3 separate regions of the Homo sapiens genome follow, and regions 1 and 2 are each linked to region 3. The links are contacts of gene promoters, found by promoter capture Hi-C in human tissues and cell types (Jung and others, 2019). All regions are on one chromosome and are shown on one strand. Each heading gives the region's core, a stretch centred on a gene start or on the middle of the fragment in contact. The rest is flanking DNA. Distances are from core to core; before and after follow the strand shown. Region 1 overlaps MIEF1 (mitochondrial elongation factor 1). Region 2 overlaps XPNPEP3 (X-prolyl aminopeptidase 3). Region 3 holds the start of ADSL (adenylosuccinate lyase).

The links. The method cuts DNA at HindIII sites, captures the fragments that hold promoters and counts their contacts. A contact is called where the count stands out against the background at its distance.
Region 1: a fragment that was not itself captured here is called in contact with the fragment with the promoter of ADSL in region 3 in 1 of the 25 tissues and cell types used here (dorsolateral prefrontal cortex).
Region 2: a contact is called between a fragment that was not itself captured here and the fragment with the promoter of ADSL in region 3, in 1 of the 25 tissues and cell types used here (dorsolateral prefrontal cortex).

The regions. Positions count from the first base shown.
Region 1 is chr22:39,514,124-39,516,823 of GRCh38, reverse strand. It overlaps MIEF1 (mitochondrial elongation factor 1), which reads right to left. Exons shown (of 6, transcript NM_019008.6): 6 at 1-2,700. The coding sequence ends at 2,501. Among named protein-coding and RNA genes, the nearest start is that of ATF4, 5.1 kb to the left of the region's middle. The HindIII fragment of the contact is 4,706 bases long and covers 1-2,700 here.
Region 2 is chr22:40,887,289-40,890,005 of GRCh38, reverse strand. The region is part of intron 4 of XPNPEP3 (X-prolyl aminopeptidase 3); the gene reads right to left. Among named protein-coding and RNA genes, the nearest start is that of DNAJB7, 27 kb to the right of the region's middle. The HindIII fragment of the contact is 5,151 bases long and covers 1-2,717 here.
Region 3 is chr22:40,345,092-40,347,791 of GRCh38, reverse strand. It overlaps ADSL (adenylosuccinate lyase), which reads right to left and starts at 1,292. Exons shown (of 13, transcript NM_000026.4): 1 at 1,081-1,292. The coding sequence starts at 1,233. RefSeq lists enhancers at 237-749, 750-1,263, 1,264-1,777 and a silencer at 950-1,039. The HindIII fragment of the contact is 18,864 bases long and covers 1-2,700 here.

The sequences.
Region 1 (2,700 bases), core at 182-2,681, 830 kb after region 3:
CTTTAAGAAGGATGATAAACTCATTTGCCTTCCTTAAATGACAATTACACTCAACTTAAATAACTTGGGACTCTTTAAAATCTTATCTTTTTTAAGCTCTTCTTCCAATTTTTATTTTTTTGAAATAGGGTCTCACTCTGTCACCCAGGCTGGAGTGCAGTGGCACGATCTCAGCTCACTGTAACCTCCGCCTCCCGGGTTTAAGTTATTCTCCTGCCTCAGCCTCCCGAGTAGCTGGGATTATAGGCGCCTGCCACCACGCCCAGCTTATTTTTATCTTTTTCGTGGAGACGGGGTTTCACCATGTTGGCCAGGCTGGTCTCGAACTCCTGACCTCAAGTGATCCACCCGCCTTAGCTTCCCAGTGCTGGGATTACAAGCATGAGCCACCGCACCCAGCCTCCTTCCAATGTTTTATGTGAAATTTGGTCAGAGATGCAAGCTTGGGAAAACTTAAATTTTTTTAATACTCATGGCAGGGAAACCAAATCCTTTATCTCAATGAATAATCTATACTTTTGCAACACTCTATCAATCCTCTCCTCTCCCTTACCTCTAACGGATACCCAGTGGGTACACAGGAACCCTGTCAAGCTCTACCCCATACCTTCTAGATTCATCCAGGATGGTACTCAGGCATACAGATTTTTTTTTTTTTTTTTAACTCTCATTTGAGTCTGACCAACAGACAGGGTAGATGAGCTCTCTCAAGATTCTCAGCTTTATGTTTTTTGTTCCCTCTCAATACCTTTATGCAAATGAAACTGAAACCACCATAAGAAATCCTTGTTAAGGGGAAAAGAGGCAAAAAGACCTCTAAATATAGTCAAGGTTAACCCTAGTTCTCAATTTCCTAATCTGTGACAAAAGAGGGGCAGGAATCTCTACCCTAAATTGATGTTGAGGTATCGATGCTAAAGAGTCATTTCCTGTTACTATCGTTGGGAAGGAATGAGACAGCTGCAGAGAGCTTCACCAGAACCTCAATGATGGAGAGGTAGTCATTGAAAAAATAAGACAACTTGACGGAAGGAAAACAAAATACTGAATGGGCAGATGAGAAACAGAATTATCATCAGAGTCTTGCTACAAACAGGGAAAAACACAAACCAAGATGACACACGGACATGGTAGATTAAACATTCCTCCCCACCTTCAGGATACATTTACATTGCAATAAATACTGCAATCTCAGCAGCGGCAAACAAGGAGGAATGTAGGAAATGCCCACCTCCTCCCCTCTGTCTTATCTGTGTGCTCTCTTCCTTGGTAGCACCGATCTCCCCAGGTGCTGGGTGAGAAACAGGACAGGGGGAAGAGGTCCGTGCATGCTCACTTGCCCTCTGGCCGTGCCCGGAGCGCTCAGCAAACACCCCTCTCACATTCCTATGGCAGACGCTGGAGGATGAAGGGCTGGCTGTTGGGTCTGTTCTTGCTCTAAGGCCACATCCTAGAAAAGCAGGGCCTGTCTGGGTAGAAAACATGGCCACCAAACCCCAACTAGTGACTGGATTTTCCAGCTGACATTCAGTCGACTGTCTACCTCCATCATCCTCACCTGATGTCTAAGGCTGCGTTCCTTCAAGGCCTTGTCCTGATTGGCAATAAAATAAGGAAAAGGTGTGAAAACCAGCATTCATGATGAAGTGGTGCCCTGGCAGTCCCCATCCTTGTCTGTCTGACCCCTGCAGCCACAGATGACGAGCAGACACTGGGCACACAAACCCTTCACTAGGCCCTTAACCAGCTCTGGTTCCCTACTCTGCACTTCTGCTAATAGCCACCAAGAAATTCAACCTGCAAATAACTTTGCATTCAGCTTATCCTGTGTGGGTCATTAACAGTGTTCCCATGAGAGACATTCTCAGCATTTATGAATGGGTCAGGAGGTTGGGGGGAGGATGGACTTCTACTCCAGGAACCGTGGTCAAAGGCCAACTCTTCTACCAGCCTCACTCCCAGAAACCCTAAATACTGTCTCAGCACTCGCTCTGTAGAGTTCAGCTTTGAAACATGCTATCACAGCTCTTCAGTGGCATTCAACTAAAAGGCAACATCTTAATTAGGCAGATATGCTCCAGGGACAAGAGCAAAACAGAAGGCATGAACGAGAGAGGAAAAAATAGAAAAGACACTGAATAGGAACAGGCAAACGGGCAAGGCAGACCAGATAGAGGCAGCAAACATGGGCCAAAACGCAAAACACCAAGTGGTCCATCAGCTCAGGCCAGCACGCCACCTTCTCAATTCATTCCAGAAAAATTAGCCTGGAGCCAGGGGGCGGCAGAGAGCACAGTGATTGGTAACAAAAATAGGAAGAGTTGGGTAACAAAATAGGAGACGAAAGAGATGTCATTCTAATCAGCATGAAGTGACCAGGGTGATGATCAGCAAGACACCAGGCAGCAGGAACCCTGTGAGGCACCAACTAGGTAGCCAAGTGTATCTAACGGAGAATCCAGGGCCTGACCACCAACACCCGCTTTGGCCTTCACCTGCCCTACGTCTGCAGCAGCACCTCTGGCTCAGACAATGAGCAATACAGAGTGTATCCTAATTCGTCTATTTCTTCAGGGGTGAGCTCTGCAAATAAGTTCACCTTGGGGTTTAGGGCACTGGGCAGGACTCCAGCCTCTAAGTAGCTGATAAGTCCCCTCAAGGCCTGCAGGAAACGGTCGGCCAGCATATCCGGAGACCAGT
Region 2 (2,717 bases), core at 159-2,658, 540 kb before region 3:
ACTCAGCAGATATATACCATGAAGTGCAGAAAACTGTGGATCAAGGAGGCCAAAGGACTGTACAGTTCGTACAAAAACACAAGAAAGTGTAATTGGATAATTCAGCTGTCTGTTTAAATCAGTACCAACCCTTCACTGATCATTGTAAATGTTTGGATTCTGTGTATGCATTTTTTTAGAGACAGTGTTTGCTCTGTCACCAAGGCTGGAGTGCAGTGATGTGATAATACTTCACTGTAACCTTAAACTTTTGGGCTCAAGTGATCCTTCTGCCTCAGCCTCCAGAGTAGCTAGGACTACAGGCATATGCCACAATGCCTGGCTAATTAAAATATCTTTTTTTGTAGAGGTGAGGTCTTGCCATGTTGCCAGGCTGGTCTCTAACTCCTCGCTGCCTCACGTGATCCTCCCACCTTGGCCTCAGTGCTGAGATTATAGGGGTGAGCCACTATGCCCTGCTTGTCTATGTATTTTGATTATCTATATGATATTGAGAAGTGAAGTAACTGTTGTCAACTCAGGATTACTGTTTTATCAAAAAATAGAGTTAATGTTGGTTATGGGGGTAGAGTGAACTGTTGTGCTAATTCCAGGTTTAGAATTAGCCAGAGCTATTTTGCTAAAGTTCCTTCCTTGGTCAAGGTGTGGCAGGAAACATACTGACTGAAAGTGTTAAGAGGATGCTGGACATGTTGGCTCATGCCTGTGATCTTAGTGTTTTGGGAGGCTGAGGATGGAAGATCTCTTGAGGCCAGGAGTTCAACACCAGCCTGGATAATATAGTGACACCCCATCTCTACAAAAACCTAAAAACAGCCATGGTGGTATGTGCCTGTAATCCAAGCTACTCAGGAGGCTGAGGCAAGAGTATCCCCTAAGTCCAGGAATTCAAGGTTGCAGTAAGCTATGATCTCACCATGCACTCCAACCTGAGCAATAGCGAGACACTGTCTCAAAAAGAAAAAACAAAACAAAACAAAACAAAACAAAAAAAAAACCATTAGGAAGGCAGGAAGCACATAAAAAGATGCCCAACACCACTAATCATTAGGGAAATACAAATCCAAACCACAGTAAGATACCACTTCACACACATTAGGATTGGCTATTGCCACAAAAACAGAACAAATGTTGGTGTAGAGTGGAGAAATTGAAACCCTTGGTGCGTTGCTAGTGGGAATGTGAAACGGTGCAGCCACTATGGATAACAGTATGGTGGTCCTCAAAATATTAAACATAAAATTACCATTTGATCTAGCAACTCCAGTTGTGTGTATATACCAAATGGAATTAAAAGAGACTTGAACACAAGATATTTGTACACTTATGTTTACAGCAACATTATTCACAATAGTAAAAAAAAAAAAAAGATAGAAACCAAATGTTTATCAATGGATGAATAGACAAATAAAATATGGCATACGCATACAATGGAATATTATTCAGTCTTTAAAAAGAATGAAGCTGGGCATGGCAGCTCATACCTGTAATCCCAGCACTTTGGGAGGTCAAGGTGGGCGGACTGCTTGAGCTCAGGAGTTCGAGACTAGCCTGGACAACACTGAGAAACCCTGTCTCTACAAAAAATTTAAAAAATTAGCAGGCATAGTGGCATGCACCAATGGTCCCAGCTACTTGGGAGGCTAAGGTGGGAGGATCACTTGAACCCAGGAGGTCGAGACTGCAGTGAGCTGTGATCATGCTACTGCACTCTAGTCTGGGCAACAGAGCGAGACTCTATCTAAAAAACAAAAGTGAAATTCTAATGGAAGAAATTTAAAAACATTATGCTAAGTGAGATAAGCCAGTCACAAAAAGCCAAATGTTGTATGATTCCATTTATATGAAGTAGCTAGAATAGGTAGATTCACAGAGAAAGTAGAGGTTACTGGGGGCTGGAGGAGGGGAGAATGGGAAGTTATTATTTATCTGTACAGTTTCTATTTGGAATGATGGAGAAAGTCGGGAAAAAGTGGGCACAACAATGTGAATGTACTTAATGTCATTGATTTGCATACTTAAAAACGGTTAAAATGATATATTTTATGTTATGCACATTTCACCACAGTAAAAAGATTTTTTTAAATTAAGTCAATGGCCAACACCTTGGAGAGAATAAATGAAATAGGGAGTTTTGGGATAGTTTCTATCAGTTTGCCAGTGAGATTTATGGTTTACACTTGGTCTCTGTGAAAACTCTCGGGGGGCTTTACTGTTACGTAGCAGGAATATGATTATGTGACCAAAAAAACAAAAATCCCTAGCTGAGATTCCATTTTGGAGTCTCTGATTCTGAGGTAGTCTGTTGCATGTGCCATGGACTGAATTGTGTTTCCCGCAGAATTAATGTGTTAAAGCTCTAATCTCTATGTCTTTAGGAGGTAGTTAAGGTTAAATTAGGTAATTAAGGGTGGGGCTCTAATTTGATAGGACCATGGCCTTGTAAAAAGGCCCTCTTTCACTGTCATGTAAGGACACAGCAAGAAAGCCGCCTTCTGTAAGCCGGGAGAGCCCTCACCAGAAATGGACCATGATGGCACCTTGATCTCGGACTTCCAGACTGCAAAATTATGAGACAATACATTTCTCTTGTTTAAGCCATGCAGACTGTGATATTTTGTAATGGCAGCCTGAGCAGAGTATGACAACACTGGTGATTCCTAATCTGTAAGAGAAAGATACATCCTGCCTGGCCCTCACCTAGGGAGGACCAGAGA
Region 3 (2,700 bases), core at 43-2,542:
CATAGTATTTCATACCTACTCTTCAGGGTTGTTTGGAGGATTAATAAGCAACCATGTGTAAAGGGTTAAGACCTGGGTCTCAGAAGGCACTATCTGAATGTCTGCTATTATTGTAGTGTATCGCCCAATATTTTGGAGGGCAGTGATAAGGGGAGGGAGGGAATCTAGAATGAAAGTTTCCTGTTTGGAGAGTTCCATGGTACAGGTCCTAGGCCCGAAGTCAAATTGTTTCCATGTTTACTGTGCCGTTTGAGAGGGCATTGCCAACTTGCTCGTTGTGGCACTTTCCTCTGAAACTTGAGGAGAAACATTATCGCTCTCTGGATCACCTTCAGTTTGCTTCAACTCTTCTGGAGCTATTTCTGAAACCGCTGGGCTAAGAAGTTCTCTATGCAGCCCTTAGAAAAGAAATTATAAACCCCGTTTAATAAACCCCTACCCGGAGTCTTCTCCTAAGAGGCAAAGCGGAGGCCAGTGAGGCAGAAACGGTGGCCTAGAAAACAAGCATTCCAGTCCTGTCACTAACTACACAGGCACTGTGGAAAACCAAGGGGCTACGTGCTCAGCTCAGGCTCTGGAGTGCACCCAGGTTCAAATCCCAGTTCCGTTCTTAATAGCTGGATGGGCTAGGGCAAACAACAAGCTGTCCGGGCTTTGTTCTCCCCTGCAATGTGGGAAAAACACCATCAAGCCTGCAAGATCTTCATGGATTACACAAGAAAAGATTAGTGAAATAATGAGCACAACAGTACGAAACAAGCGCTCGGTGTCTGTGGTTAGCAGCGTACTCCTGCGGGGATGGCCAAAATGAATTCCCTGAAACTACAGGCTGAATTTCTCCCAGCCTCCTCCGCGTCTCGAACCCTCTCGGACTGAGAACACGTGAGGCAACAGGTGGCGGCTCCCGGATCTCCTGCCCTTGCTTTCCTGGGGCCGCAGCTCCTCAGGACAGGGAACACCCAGCTGAAAATAGCCGGGCCGCAGCTCCGGGGTGGCTAAGCCCAGCCCGGAACAGAGCCCGGCACGTGCTGGGGCGGGCCCGTCCCTCCCGGCCCAGCCCCTCAGCCCGGGATCCGTTACCTGCTCGGCCTCCGCCAGCCACAGCCACAGCTGCCGCCATGTCCGGAATTTATACCTGTCGCTAAACACGAAGCACATCTCCGGGCTGGCATAGCGGGAGGCAAGAGGTGAGCGGTAGCTGTCGGGCGAACCATGATCGCCTCCAGCCGCCATCCCAACCCTGCGACCCCGCCAGGGTGGACTGGACCAGGGAAGAGCGGAAGCGGAAACCTGGAGGCCAGGGCAGGACGGGGCGGGGCGGGACTTCCTTCACGCGGTCTCGCTCTCTGGGTTCCGGGCGCCCTGGGCGCTGCCGGCTGCGGAGAATCTCCGCTGCTTCTGCCTGAGAATTGACTTGGTTCGCTTCTTTGACCAGAAACATGATTGATGCTTCCTACGTTACTTAGCCGCGCTACACTTTAGTTTTCCTGTCTGAAAAGAGGTACATTAAGACTTCCTTGGCCGGGCGCGGTGGCTCACGCTTGTAATCCCAGCACTGTGGGGGCCCCAGACCGGAGGATCGCTTGAGGCCGACAGATCGAGACCAGCCTGGGCAACACAGGGAGACCCTCCCGTCTCTAAAAAACAAAAAGCAAAAAAAAAAAAAAAAAAAAAGGCCTGCCTTTCGGGTTGTGCGGATTCAGTGTTAGAGCGGTGTCTGGCACACTTGGAAGGCCGTGTGTACGCTTGCTGTTACTCTTATTACTGTCGCCCCACCCACTCCTGCCCGCGGCGCACCGAGCTCGGCTCTAAGGAGAAATGAAGATACCCAAGGGAAATCGGCATTTACTGCGCCCCCAGTGAGCCGGCTGCGGTGGCCTACGCCTGTAATCCCAGCACTTCGGGAGGTCGAGGCAGGCAGATTTCCTGAGCTTAGGAGTTTGAGACCAGCCTGGGCAACACGTGAAACCCTGTCTCTACTAAAATACAAAAAATTAGTCGGGCATGGCGGCCTGTACCTGTAGTCTCAGCTACTTGTGAGGCTGAGACAGGAGAATTTCTTGAACCCGGAAGGCGGAGGTTGCAGTGAGCCAAGATCGCGCCACTGCACTCCAGCCTGGGCGACAGAGCGAGACTCCGTCTCCAAAAAATAAAAGAATTAAATAAATAAATAGAAATAGAAACACTCAAGTGGCCCCCCCCCTTTTTTTTTTTTTTGACAGGGTCTTGCTATGTTGTTCAGTCTGGAGTGCCAGTGGGGTGATCACACAGGAAAGGGTTCATCTGGAGCTGTAAGAGCCAGGTGTCTCAGCTGGGCACGGTGACTCACGCCTATAATCTCAGCACTTTGGAGGCTGAGCTGGGCAGATCGCTTGAGTCCAGGAGTTGGAGACCAGCCTGAGCAACATGATGAAACACTGTCTCTACAAAAAATACAAAAATTAACTGGGTATGGTGGTGTGCACCTGTAGTCCCAGCTACTTGGGAGGCTGAGGTGGGAGAATCACTTGAGCCCAGGATGTTGAGGCTGCAGTAAGCCATGATTTTGCCACTACAGCTTAGGCAACAGTGAGACCCTGTCTCAAAAACAAAACAAACGAAAAGAGCCGGGTGCCTGCACCCTCTCCACCTGCACTTAACTCCTAGCTCTCTGCCTTTTACGTGAGGAATCTAAAGACACTCAAGCCAGGTGTGGTGGCT